Regions from separate parts of the Homo sapiens genome. Here all the other regions are linked to region 4. Evidence: promoter capture Hi-C in 16 types of primary human blood cells and fetal thymus (Javierre and others, 2016). All regions are on one chromosome and are shown on one strand. The core of a region is centred on a gene start or on the middle of the fragment in contact, and the rest is flanking DNA. Distances in the headings are between cores, read along the strand shown.

What was found. The method cuts DNA at HindIII sites, captures the fragments that hold promoters and counts their contacts. A CHiCAGO score of 5 or more calls a contact.
Region 1: a fragment that was not itself captured here is called in contact with the fragment with the promoter of SF3B1 in region 4 in 1 of 17 cell types (total B cells); the score reaches 6.0 in total B cells.
Region 2: the fragment with the promoter of INO80D here is called in contact with the fragment with the promoter of SF3B1 in region 4 in 1 of 17 cell types (neutrophils); the score reaches 11.6 in neutrophils.
Region 3: a fragment that was not itself captured here is called in contact with the fragment with the promoter of SF3B1 in region 4 in 1 of 17 cell types (total B cells); the score reaches 6.3 in total B cells.

The regions. Positions count from the first base shown.
Region 1 is chr2:190,891,562-190,894,928 of GRCh38, forward strand. All of the region lies in intron 1 of GLS (glutaminase), which reads left to right. Among named protein-coding and RNA genes, the nearest start is that of GLS, 12 kb to the left of the region's middle. The HindIII fragment of the contact is 308 bases long and covers 1,465-1,772 here.
Region 2 is chr2:206,084,208-206,087,597 of GRCh38, forward strand. INO80D (INO80 complex subunit D) reads right to left here and starts at 1,967. Exons shown (of 11, transcript NM_017759.5): 1 at 1,694-1,967. INO80D-AS1 (INO80D antisense RNA 1) reads left to right here and starts at 448. Exons shown (of 2, transcript NR_186084.1): 1 at 448-541; 2 at 1,750-3,297. RefSeq lists enhancers at 1-85, 1,714-2,003, 1,730-2,549, 2,054-2,103, 2,114-2,223 and silencers at 698-992, 894-943, 984-1,183, 1,204-1,373, 1,454-1,663. The HindIII fragment of the contact is 4,007 bases long and covers 1-3,059 here.
Region 3 is chr2:190,933,213-190,936,495 of GRCh38, forward strand. The region is part of intron 14 of GLS (glutaminase); the gene reads left to right. Among named protein-coding and RNA genes, the nearest start is that of GLS, 54 kb to the left of the region's middle. The HindIII fragment of the contact is 3,499 bases long and covers 1-3,276 here.
Region 4 is chr2:197,433,751-197,436,792 of GRCh38, forward strand. SF3B1 (splicing factor 3b subunit 1) reads right to left here and starts at 1,278. Exons shown (of 25, transcript NM_012433.4): 1 at 1,222-1,278. The coding sequence starts at 1,249. RefSeq lists enhancers at 615-1,161, 906-2,105, 1,347-1,656, 1,677-1,726. The HindIII fragment of the contact is 13,845 bases long and covers 569-3,042 here.

The DNA of each region.
Region 1 (3,367 bases), core at 369-2,868, 6.5 Mb before region 4:
GTGTAAAACTAATTTATAGAGAACTGCATACCAGACTGAGGAGTATGAATTCCCCCTTTGGTATGGGGAAACTAATTTGGTCAGTGGGGTAAGCAAAGACAGTTCCTCTTTTCATGTTGCAGAAGTTGGCCCTGCATTTAAACTTAATGTAGATTTTGGAAGGTAGTCTCCTCATTTACCTCAGATATATATATTCAGAATATATATATTCTCAACACTAAAAAATTAAGTATTCATATAATAGCCTATAGGTAGAAACAGGCACCTTAATTCACACATTCTGTGCTCTAGCTGTTTTTTGTTCTTTATAAACACTAAGTGAATGCTTACTTTCATCCCTTTGGTCTGTTTGCCAGAAATCTTTTTCTGTTGCCATGCTTCCAGCTCTTACCCATCTTTCAGGTTTAGCTCAGATTCCACCTCATCTAAAAAAAAGCTTGACCTTATTAGACCACAGTGAAGTAGTTTTCCAAAGTCTGGATGTCATAGATCTATTCTTGTAATTCCTCATTTTATGTACATGTCTCCTACTTCTTCTAGACTGTAAATGATGTCTAACATGATGTCATACATGGCATGGGATTTTTCTTCTTTTTCATTAAGAAATTATTTTTTAAGACAGTTAAAGGCTAAAGTAGGGGAAGGAATGGGTAAAAGAAGAAACAATATGATGGTAAGATGATCTTAAAGGCAGCATTTAGAAAGGAAACGAGAGAGACAGTATAAGTTGGAGAAGAAGTAAAAAGGTGAGAAATAAGGATTTTCCTTCAGATTATCTTCTGTTATATCCTATTTGAATTGCTGAATATCATAACCATTTTATGTTTTTCTCTTCAGGGGAATCTGGAGGATTCATTTGGGTTATTAATAATTGTTGATGATAAGATTTGAAAGATTGCTATAATCCTATTTGTCATTAAAACTTAAATACTTCTCTCAAGGATTTCCTAGTTACTATATAGTTACCAAAAGCTATAGTTTTTAGCTTTTGAATTTTAATGAAAAATACATTATTGTGAAGAATTACCAGAAAGAATTAATTTAGGGAGAGAAAAGGGGGGTTAAGGCATGAATGATCTTGAGTAGTTTCTGCCTTGTGGAAAGTTTGAGGAGAATATTTGAGTATGTTTGTTCGCCAGACTGTTGAAGCGAATTCATTCTCAGATCAAAATCTGAGGTTTCAAATGCTGAAATAGGTAGTAATTTCTTTTTATCAGTTTTGACAGCTTATTTTGTGAGCTTATTTTTTAGGGCTGGCTTAAATTCTTTCCCCTATAGATAAAAATTAATTTCTTGTTTAAAAGCAAGTAAACATTTGTCTTTTTTTGCTAGCTTTGGCAATAACGTGGTCATTTTAATTTTTTTTCACTATGTGCCATAAGCTAAAAAAGTGTATATTTTACGTTATTTACATAGCTTTTAGGCAAAGCAAATACCATTTACTTGTGTGATAAATACATAGAAAGCTTATTCTGCAGTTTTTTAAAGTGACAAACTACCACTATCTGAAGTTTATTTGACCAACCATTTGCTGTAAATAATTGGTATGTTATTATCCACTGATTTTTTGACAGCTGGTTCAGTTTTTTCTTTGAATATTAGGTGGTGAGTATTGTTAAGCTGTGTTTAATGGTATTAGGTCAGGATAAGACCTAGAAAACTTGTTTGTACCTTATAAAAGTAATAACAAGCTAGTAAGTTAGAGAGCCAGTATAATGTAGCAGTAGTTTGGATTCAGAAAAATCCATCTTTGCCATTGTGTAACCTTGGAAAGCTTCTTAACCTCTGAGCCTCTGTTTCCTAATCTGTGAAATGGGGACAGAGGTAGTCATTTTTTTGAACAAATAACAAATTTGTTGAGCTTCTAAGTATGTACCAGAAATCATACTATGTTTTGGATAACAGTAGTACCTCTGTCATAAAATCCTTGGAGGATTAAGTTAGAATGCATGTAAAACACTTAGCACAGTGTGTAGAATATAAGTAAGTGATCAATATATTGTAGTTATTATTACTAAAACATCCCAAATGTATTTTTTTTGGAGACAGAGTCTCGCTCTGTTACCCACTCTGGAGTGTGGTGGCACGATCTTGGCTCACTGCAACCTCCACCTCCCGGGTTCAAGCTATTCTCCTGCCTCAGCCTCCCAAGTAGCCGGGATTCAGGCGCCTGCCACAACGTCTGGCTAGTTTTTCTATTTTTAGTAGAGATGGGGTTTCACCGTGTTGGCCAGGCTGATCTCGAACTCCTGACCTCAAGTGATCCTCCTGCCTCAGCCTCCCAAAGTGCTGGGATTATAGGCGTGAGCTGCCACGCCCAGCTTCAAATGCATTTTTAGAAGTTGTCTAAGAGCAAAAACAGTTTCAGGGAATAATTATGTATCAGGATATGTCATTAAATATTTTAATGATAAAGCTATGTGTTTTTAAAAAACATTTGTGTGACATTCAGTATTTAAAAGTTTGGTTAATCATAGCATTTTAGTGTTACACTAGTTTAGTTAATTAAGATTTTTAATGCATACTTATTGGTAACGTTTTTCTTTTAATAGTCTTTATGATTTGTAGAATTTGATGTATACAGTCTTGCCTTGTCCTTCTGTATATGTTAAGAGATTGGTTCCAGGTCCCCCACAGCTCAAGTCTCTTATGTAAAATGGCATAATATTTGCCTATAACCTACATATATCCTCCCATATATTTTAAATCATCTCTAGATTACTTATAATACCTAATAAAATGTAAATGCTATGTAAATAAGTCTTATACTATCTTTTGAATGTACGTTTTTTTATTTTTTTTCTGAATATTTTTTATCCGTGTTGGTTGAATCTATGGATGCAAAGGGCTGACTAGGATATGTAAACCTAGATCACTTTAGAAATAATAACTACAACTACTGTCAGTGGAGTCTTACTCTCTGCCAGACATGTTCTAAAGATATTGAATGTATTGAGTCAACTGATCCTCACCACAACCCTATGAGGGAGGCACTGTTTTATTCCCTTTCTCAGATGAGGAAACTGGATCACAGAAAGGTTAATTAATTTACCCAAGGTTACACAACTATAGTATTACAGCCAGGATTCAAGAACTTGTGCACTTGATCTTAACTACTGTGTAGTAGTTAATTGCTATCTCTCCCAGATTTTATAATCAGGTTAACTATTTGAATAATATGTAAATATAGTCATCATATTTAGAAAATCCCCAAAACAACTGAACAGAGTGTTGAGTCTTATCGGAACGTTTGCTGAACTCTATAATTTGTATTGGGTGATTGTACTGGGGTGTATAGGAAGGCATCACCATAACGGATGGCTGGGCATTAGCACAACTAGAGTTGATGATCAGGGTTTCAAAACCT
Region 2 (3,390 bases), core at 717-3,216, 8.7 Mb after region 4:
CATATATTTTTTTTTCGTTTAAATGTTATACATACACACACACACACACACACACACACACACACACCCCAAAACCAAAGTAGTTTTGCTAGGTTCCGAGGGCTCTTCCACAGACCCTTCTGAGTTGTAGCAATAACAAGTTTAGGTTTCCTTAAAATCTCCATTACTCTATTTCTAGGTCGAATACAAGAATGTCACATAAAACTAAACAGTGATTATCAGAATAAATGAACTACTGATCCTTAAACTGTAGACCTTGTTTCGGGAGCTGCCCTGCCCACTTCCTCTCCCTCCTCCCAATCCCGGAGGCTTCCAAGCCATCTGACAACCACGTCTCCCCCTTGGGATCTGTTCCGGTGTTGGTTTTACCGGACAGTGACCAAAAAGGAGGGGAAACTCCTACATCTGGGGACTGCTCCAGAAACCCTGCCTGATCCTGCCCCTCTCACTGACAGTCTCCTCGCTGCTCCCTACATCTTCCTCTCCGCCGGAGCTGTCCAGAAGGGGGATTTTGGACCCAAAGGAATCGGGATGAAAGGGGGTGGGTACTCAAGCTGAAAATAACACCCCCAGTTGGTGGGGTAAGGGCTAAAAAAGGCAATAGGGAAAGATTGTCCGGCAGAAACACCACCTGAGTTTACCTCCTCCTTCCCACCCCAAAAACCCAGTCACTAACTAATAAAGCTAAGAAAAGCCCCTTGCAAACTTTTCCAAACCGGAAGAGAAGGCCCTCTCCCCAACCTGGGGGGCTCTAGGGGGAAGGGGCTGGAGTTAGCAGCCCCGAATGGGCTCGCGGGGAGTTGGGTGGGGCGCGGGCGAGGGGTGCAGGGGCGGAGTACCTTCTTCAATGGACAGGAACTGGCAAAGAGTTTCAAAATAGCCGAGTGCGCTCCCCCACGCCCTGGGGGGTCCCGGGCGCTAGGACCAGGGCTCCCCGGAGAGACAGCGGCCCCCAGTTCGGGCCTAAAAGGAAACTTTCTGGGCCGCGGCTGCACCTGACTCCTCACCGCCCCTCCACCCGACCCCACGCCCGCCAGGCCGCCCGCCCCGCCCCGCCCCGGCCTGGCCGTCCGGAGCGCGGAGGAGGGGGATAAATAAATTCAACTCTTACCGGAATCTGGGGGCCGTCTGCGAGAGACCCGGGGGAAGGGGAGCCGGGCGCCCATTCCCCACTCCCCACTCCTAGGCCCTGACGCCCCTGTCCCGGCAGCCCGGGCCTGCCGCCCCGCGGGAAAGCCTCCGGGCCGGCGCGGGATTCGGCCCAGCAGCGCCGCCGTCCCACCCGGAGACCCCGGGGGACTCGAGGGGGCGCGCGGAGGCCCGGGGTGCGGGGGCAGGGCGCGGCTGCCGTGGGGCCTACCGGCCCGAGGCCTACCGGCGCCCCCCCCTCCCGCCGCACACCCCCACCTGGCCCGCGCAGGCCGCTCCGCTCGCCCCACTCCGGCTCCGGCTGGACCCCTGCCCGCCCGCCGTCGCCGCCCGCGGGCGCCCCGGAGGCCCTCAGGCCCCCGGCCTCCACCACCCGGGCGCCGGCCCCACTCACCCTTTCATTCTCCGCCCGGGGCCTGGCGTGGGCCGGCGAATCCCCGGCCTCACGTAAGCGCGCTCGCCGCCCGCCCAGCCTGCGCGGCCCAGCCCGCCGCCCTACGGGAGCCCGGGGATGTGGGCCGGGCCTGGGGCCGCCTCTGCTTACCTTTCAGCTGCTTTTTTTTTTCTCCTTCCCCCCTGTTCCCTCGGCTGGGCTGACAGATCAGAGTGAGAGGCGCTGGCAATGGACTAGGAAGCTCGGCTGCCGCTGCTACTGCTCCCCCCTGGGCTCCGGCGAGAGCCTTTCCCTGTCAAGCAAGAGGGGTGAGGATCATATTTTTATTTTGGAAACTAAAAAGTGCTCCCAGGGTCGGTGATTATTAAGGGGAAATCCCTGAATATACTCTCCAGCCAAGAAGGCAGGGCTGCCGGGGCTGTACAAGAAGAGGCAGCAGCCTCCTACAGCACCACTACAGGCACTGCGAGGACATAACACCAGAGAGCTGCTCCTCTGCCCTCCGAAACGACAACTTTCCTACCATCTTGGAGGCAGAGCAAAGGGGGGCCAGGGGGAAAAGTGCACCCGCTCCCGATAAAGTACAAATTTTTACTTCTCATCTCTGGAAAAAAGTCCACACCGGCCGTCTACACCCGCGCCTGGGGGAGAAAGCAGGGAAGAAACGGGGGGTGCATGAGAAACGTTTTCATTTGCTCCAGGGGGAAAAATGTTTCTGCATCTTCTGATGGAAAGAAATCTTTACAAGACACAGGTTTTCCGGTGGTTATTGTTTTTTATTTTCTGTTTTTAATTTTTTTCATGTTAGTGACAGTGATATTTTAATATTTTTTTAAGCCAGTAATAATTTTTCTCCATTACAGGGCTAAGTTCTGTGGCTGGTGGTCAGTTTGTAAATTTATACTTAAAGAGACTTAATAGTAACTTCATTTATTTGTCTGGTTATGTTATTGTATATATAAATATTTATGTTTTCATATATTGCATATAAAAATTTGTGTTACATGTTACTCTCAGAACAGATTGCTGTAAGACAATTGTAAAAAAACATGTCTTTCGTCTGTTTCTCAAAGCAATGTAAATAAAACCTATGGACTGTCCAGAAAGGCATGATACAGTGTGTCATTTTCCACAGTGCAGATAAAGGCAGCTATCACTGGGGATTTAAAAACGGCCCCTGTTTCTGGAAATTCTGTTATGCTGCCCATACAGAAAGGATACAGTAAAACTGGAAAGAGATTTTAAAGACAGCCTTAGATTTTTCTTGAGGTAAAATAGCTTATTAAGAATTATATCCGGGCATTTAATTTTTTTATTTATTTAGATTCTTTAAACTCTAGCTAGATCTTTGGTGCATTACACATGTTGCTATCTGCTTTTTGTGTCACAGAATTGAGAAATGTGGCTATTTTTGTTAGTTATGTTAGTTCAGAACTTCCAATGTGCTGCCAGCCTGTATGATAGACTTTTTGTATATTGCAGTGGATGTCATGAATTTACTTTTTTAAATGAGCAAAGCTTACTAGATAAATGGGATCAGAGTTAAACAATGCTGTTAGCACAGAGGTGAGAGGGACAAAGGGTACCCATTTACATCGATTCCAATAGAACGCTTATTGGAGGATAAATTGCAGAGACATTTTTCTATTTTTGTGAAGAAAGAGAAAAATAATAGAAAAAGAACCGACTATCTTTGTATGTTCTACTGGGGATGATGATTTAAATCTTGTATTAAAAGTTATTTTTCTAACACATGTTGACTAACCTGGCAGGAATGAATTTGTTATATTAGTGCCCTGAATCAGTAGAATATTTAATTTCTTTGTAAAATTTATTACACAACATTT
Region 3 (3,283 bases), core at 277-2,776, 6.5 Mb before region 4:
CAAATTAAACTCATAAGTTTTGTTGCATTTTGTTTTTTCTTTTCCATTTTTAAAACTAATGTGATGTCTTTAGTGGCAATAGAAGGTACTTCTATGCTAAATACAAAACTAAAAAGGCAAAATAATGAACCCCAAATTATTTTATTTAAAATAGCAGTGGATTATAAAATTAGCTTGTGTTTACATTTATGCCATTTTTGGTGATAGATTGGCTTTACATTTTAAAAAATTTATTTAAAAATTTATCAAATGCTTTAAAATATGACTCCTACTTTTTTTATTTTGCAACTCCTCTGTTCTGTCAGAGTTGTTATATACAGGAGTGTCTTATGTTACTAAAACATTCCAGCCAAAGAATTTCAGATGTGAGATAATGATGTTTCATCAATAAAAAGCTATAATGGTTAGTTACTCAGAAGGAGAAACAGTGAGTGTCTTCAAGTGAATTGTTCACCTAAACAATTTTATTTTCATATTATCCACATAACTTTTTCTATGTTATATTTAAATATGAATGGCAAATTTTGGTTTTTAGCTTTTACATTTTATTATCTTAATTTTATAAATGCTAATATTTCTTTTGTGATAAGTTATAGCATCTCATAAAGTTTGTTCTATTTGAAGTTTTTTAGAGTACTTGAGAAATGAATTTAGTCTGCAGGTAGTAAGTATGCTACTAAAATACGTTAGATCTAAATCCTTTTATTTGGTATAAAAATGCAATATTGAGAATCAAAACTTGTTTTTAAGAGAACTATAGATTCTACACAACCTGATTTCAAGTAATTATTCATAGTATTTATAGTTGTCTTGGCAAAGTGATTGTAAAATTCTGTAGGACCTATTCACACTTCTTCCTTCTTCCATATACTTCTCTGGTTTTCCCCATAGTTCCCCTATAATTTCAAGTTTGTTGAAACCTGTTAATTTTAGTGGGGGATTAGAAGAAAAACTTGGTGGTTTCTTAGCATGATGGTGTATGTATGTGGTAATGGAAAGTCTGTAAAAGTAAATATAGTGTAGCAAAAAAGATTTCACTGAGTATTTTAGATACTAGTGCAAATAAAGATAGAAAATCTTGATCATAATGTCTTAAGTTTGGGAACTGTGATATTAAGAAAAGAAATTCCCTTCTAGAGGTGCTGGCCAAAAAGCCTTTTGGGCTAACTTAAGTATTAAATTTATATATTTAAATAATTATATTTTAAGTTGTAGAGGATTTTCCCAAGGATTTTATGCTTACTTGAATGTTCTTTGAATGTTCAGATGCATATCCTAACTGGATGCTTCTCAAGGCCTTACTGCATATTTGTGTTGCATATTTATGTTAGTTGCACCAGGGCCATTTGTAGTTTGGGCAACCGAATGCCTTAATTGGAAAAAAGGCATTGTGGTTTCCCCTATGATCTAAATTGTTACATTTTACCATTTCATTCCGAAGTTGGTTTTACTTTATTAAATGAAGATTTAGTTTTCATATCGTATACATAGCTGTATAGATTTCAAAATTAGGTTGTTAATTTGTGTCACTTACTATTTTTGTGTTGGTAATGCTTTAAATGCATACTTAAAAATGAAGTACTGTTATCTAAGCTACTGTGTTTAGAAAATGTTAAGAATGAGCAGAAATTTTTATAGAAAAGTATAAACGGAAGAAGAGATAAGATACTGCGAATAGGCCCTCAAACTTAAAAAAGAAAAAACTTTGCCAGTTTTAAGGACATATTTTGATTCTTTCAGTATTCTTAACACCTTTTTAAACAAAGTTCTTGATAGTACCCACTATTATTGGGTTTGTTTTATGCCATTATTGATTCTTGATATTCAAGCATTTACAATGTAGCATATTTGATTTTCTTTTTTCTTTCTTTTTTTGGCATCATTAACATTTCATTTGAAATGCATATTGTTCTTGAAGTACTTTGTTTTTAGCATAAATGTTGTGCATTTTATCTTAGTGTTTGGATGAAAACATTTGTGTTGTTTAGCTTTCATTTGCTTTGTATATTTAATAATGTACCTTTATTTTCCAGTATGCCTACATTTTGTATTGCACAATAAATTTATTTTAAGCTGATTTTATTGTTTTTTTTGTTTTGTTTTGTTTTGTTTTTATAAAAGCAACTTCAACATTTTAAGTACAAATACAGTTGGGATTTTAACTTAGAAAAAATTATTCTTTATGAAGATACTGTTAAAGTGTTTGCTATTCTGAAGCTGCCTCAAAGTAAACTAGAAATATTCAAAAGGGCTTTATTTGATTTTTTAAAATGCAATATAGCATTAGTGGTTTTTTTGGGAGGAGGACTTTTCTTATTGGTTGTACTAGAAGTATTTGAATAAAAACTTTTCTCTCAATTTTTTTGGTGGTTTTTCCATTTGGTAACTTTAAAAAAAGTGCAACCCTATTTGTAGGTTATTTCTGCTTTCTGAGGAGGAATATTGTTGTTATTCACTATGTAACTCTCATTTTATCTGTTGTTGCCTAAATAATAGGAAAAACATTGCTAAACCAAATGAAGAGTATCATCATATTGCTTTAGAATAAAACTGTTAATCTCAGTAGAATTTATATTAAACAGAATGACAGTGATACAGAAATTCACCTTAACTGGTTTCTGAGGGGATTACATTTTCAGAAGGAATTTTGTATATTTCCACAGCATGATCCAAATTATAGTACAAATTATAGAGGCTCCATGTATTGTAGGTCAAATATAGTACTTTACATTTTTATGTTTAATTAAATCTGCCATTCATATTCTGGAGATTCCTGAATATATTGTAGAAGTTTTAAAACTATTTGAAAGGGGAAATACTGTTGTTTACATGAATTTGTATTAATCTGTGGGATTTTTAAATGAAGTTCTTTTAGAATTAGTTAATAAGGAGTTCCAGTATAATGATATATTCAATATATGTAACAGTTTATGATTACTTGCTTTTAAAGATTTTTTTAAAAAATTTATTTGAAGTAAAGAGAGAGGAGACTTAAAATACCTGGTGATCTTGATCTGACAGTGTATATTTAATAGGCATATATTTATGTGGAAAGAACTGCTGAAATATACTGATATGTCAGCCTATATCCTGATAATTTATATATAATGTGTGGGTTGCATATGTTTGTGCATATGTATATACGTTTGTGCATACATATATATGATTTCCTTATCTATGTACCTTAATCTACCCATTCATATTCTGAAAATGATGAGCAGTTCTTTTCACATTGTGTACTATGTATAAATTATTCATTGATCTATTCCTGTTCCAAGCTTTG
Region 4 (3,042 bases), core at 28-2,527:
GCACCCTCTGTTCCTGCTACAGTGGACTACTACTCAAACACACCTTTCACGATTCAATACCTTGTTACAAGATGTTCTCAGGCTCAGATGTCCTTCCCGATTTAAAACTGACTGATCCTTTTAAAACACGGTCATGTAACCTCCTCAGTGAAACAACCCTAAACATAATCATTCCGTTACCCAGGTTCCCAGAACATGCTGCTTTTTCTTCTACTTAAGCATGCATCTGGCCTCATGAGAGAATGAGAACATACACATCTGTTTCTCCTATCAGACTGTAAAATTTTGGATGGCCTCAGTCTCTTACCTCTCACAGACTAATACCGAGCCAAATACCCAGAAAGAACATATGAAACAAAAGTGACTTAGAAGTCTCGTTCTCAGTGAAAATCTCGGATTCCAAGTCAGAAATCAAAGAATGCAGTTCCAACTTCTCATGCCTCGTCTTTTCTGAAAAGTGATCCCATTTTCTGTCATCTCTGGATACTTCCTAATGAACTCCAGTCTATTCCCAACGTTTTCCTAATTTGCACACTCTGTATTCCATAAAACGATCAACTAGCTTGAAAGCTTCGGCCATTAATGAAAGTAATTTATGTTTTCCTCTTCCATCTGCTCCTCCAATAACCAGTCTCCAAAGAAAAAGATCAATATTATACTAAAAGTGACTAAGGGAGGGAAAACAACTACCAGATTTTATCCCCAAATCGTTTCGTGCAAGAAAAATAAACAAGTAACTGACGCTTGAAGACACACAAGGGTAGGAGTAACGGAATCTCGGTTTAACCAAATTCGATTCAGTCTGCCGGAAAAGCGGCTGCCGTATTTCAGTGCTTTTCTGACCCTCTTCTGCACAAACTATGGGGACGACAGTGTCGAGAGGCGAGTGAGACCTTCTCCCCACGCCCGCTTCCCCGATCCCTTGCCCACGAATCCTACTGAGGAAGCCGCTTAAACGAGGCCCTCTGGTCAGAGAAGAGAAGCTACTCTGAAGTAGCAGGTCCCAAACACTGAACAAAGCGCCTGTCGGGGGTGTAAGAGGAGGACGCCATTACGCGGGGCAGTGGCCTGCGCCGCTGGCGCGGAGGAGACGACCCTTGGCCCCGAAACGCGGGCTCAGCTCCTACGAAAGAAACCATAGAAAAAGGCAGAATCCTAGGAAAAAAGGCTTTTATTAGGCTAGCAACGAAGAAAACACGTAAGCAGGGAAAGACCGCTTACCTTCGTGAGTCTTGGCGATCTTCGCCATTTTGTCCACTCGAACACACAGACGGAACTGGCGCTCCCAAGAACTTCCGCTCGTCGCCGCCGCCACGGAGAAAAATAGCTGGGGGCTGCACTCTGCGCGTGCGCCAAACGGGAGCGCGCTCCGTCGGGTGACACGTGACAGAACTGCCACCTAGAGGGAACCGCGAGGTGCATTGTGGGTGGGGGAGGAGACACGGTTGGGCCCTGAAGTCGCCTGCGTGGTGACCCAGGAAATCCCCGAGCCGAGCCGTAAGGTCCTTAAGTGAGTAACTTTGCCCTGGAGGAAAGTGGATTCTACGAAGGGAGTTAAGAACAGACACTGAGTCCCAGCAACTCTGGAGGCTGAGGCGGGAGCATCGCTTGAGCCCAGGAGTTCGAGGCAGCCGTGAGCCGTAATCGTGTCGCGCCACTGTACTCAAGCCTCCAGACCGGGCGACAGAGCAAGACCCCGAGACCCCTCCCATTAAAAAAAAATGAACACTGTACGAAACGCTGCGGTTTCAGAGCTGGAAGAGACCTCAGACATTCAATCCCTTTTCCCAAAATTCACTGGAAGAGCTCGAGGAAAACTTTCCCTTGCAGCTGTCTCAGTCTTTACAGTGCTTAGTTACGAAGACAGTCTTAACAGTCCCATCTTTCGCCCTGTAATTCAAGGTCATTTTTCATTCTTTCTGTTTAATAATTGCAAATAATTTGGGTAGGAATTTCGTTGAGCCTCACAAATCGTTGCTGAGTTGCACAGTGACAATCTTGCCACCCTTTTAAAGCCTTTTACTTTATGGGTTCCTAGAAAACCACTCATCGTCATTATTAACATTCATTAGATGTTTCTCTTAAATCCTAGACGGTATTCCTAAATCAGGAATTTTAATAGATCAGAATACGGCAGTCTGTTTTCCTGGGCATCAATTATAATATAACCTTGTACTGTCACACTGGTCTTTGACTTCGACGATGAAAAAGAAAGAAAGGCTCAGAAAGATGGGTCCCGGAAGCAGCCGAGGAAAACAGGTAGTTATCAAGGTTAGAGCCATCACAAAGAGAGGAGTACCTCGCTATGTGATAAACCTGCAACCCAAATACTAACCATACCATGGGTCAGTATGGTCGTTTGAAGGGAGGGAAATGGTATGGGTGTATTCCTCTTGCAGGAAGACCCCATATCTACTTTGGGTAAAGTGAGGAGCCATTTTCCTGAGGCTAGCGGTAGGTGGGAGATATATGGACAATGGCACTGGACTGAGAGCTTAGATAACCTGTCCCTGGTGACTCCTGACCTGCAGCCTTGCTCCCTCTTTCCCTCTCACCAGACTCCCTCCCTTCTTCAGATCAGGTGACACAAACGATTTTTTTTCTGTTTTTTTGACACACAGTCTTGGTTTGTTGCCCAAGCTGGAGGGCAGTGGTGCGATCACAGCTGACCCTAACTTCGACCTTAAGGTTCAAGAGACTCTCCTGCCTCAGTCTCCAGAGTAGCTAGTACCACCAACATGGGCCACCATACCCAGCTAATTTTTATTTTTTGTAGAATGAGATCTTACTATATTCCCCAGGCTGGTCTCAAACTCTTGGCCTCAAGCAGTCCTCCTGCCTCAGACTCCTAAAGTGCTGGGATTATAGGCGTGAGCCACCACAGATTTTTATTAGCATCAGTAAAGGAATAAATTTGATAAATTAAAATTTTTGGCCAGGCGTGGTGGCTCATGCCTGTAATCCCAGCACTTTGGGAGGCTGAGGCAGGCGGATCACAAGGTCAGGAGTTCAAAACTAGCCTGACCAACACAGTGAAACCCC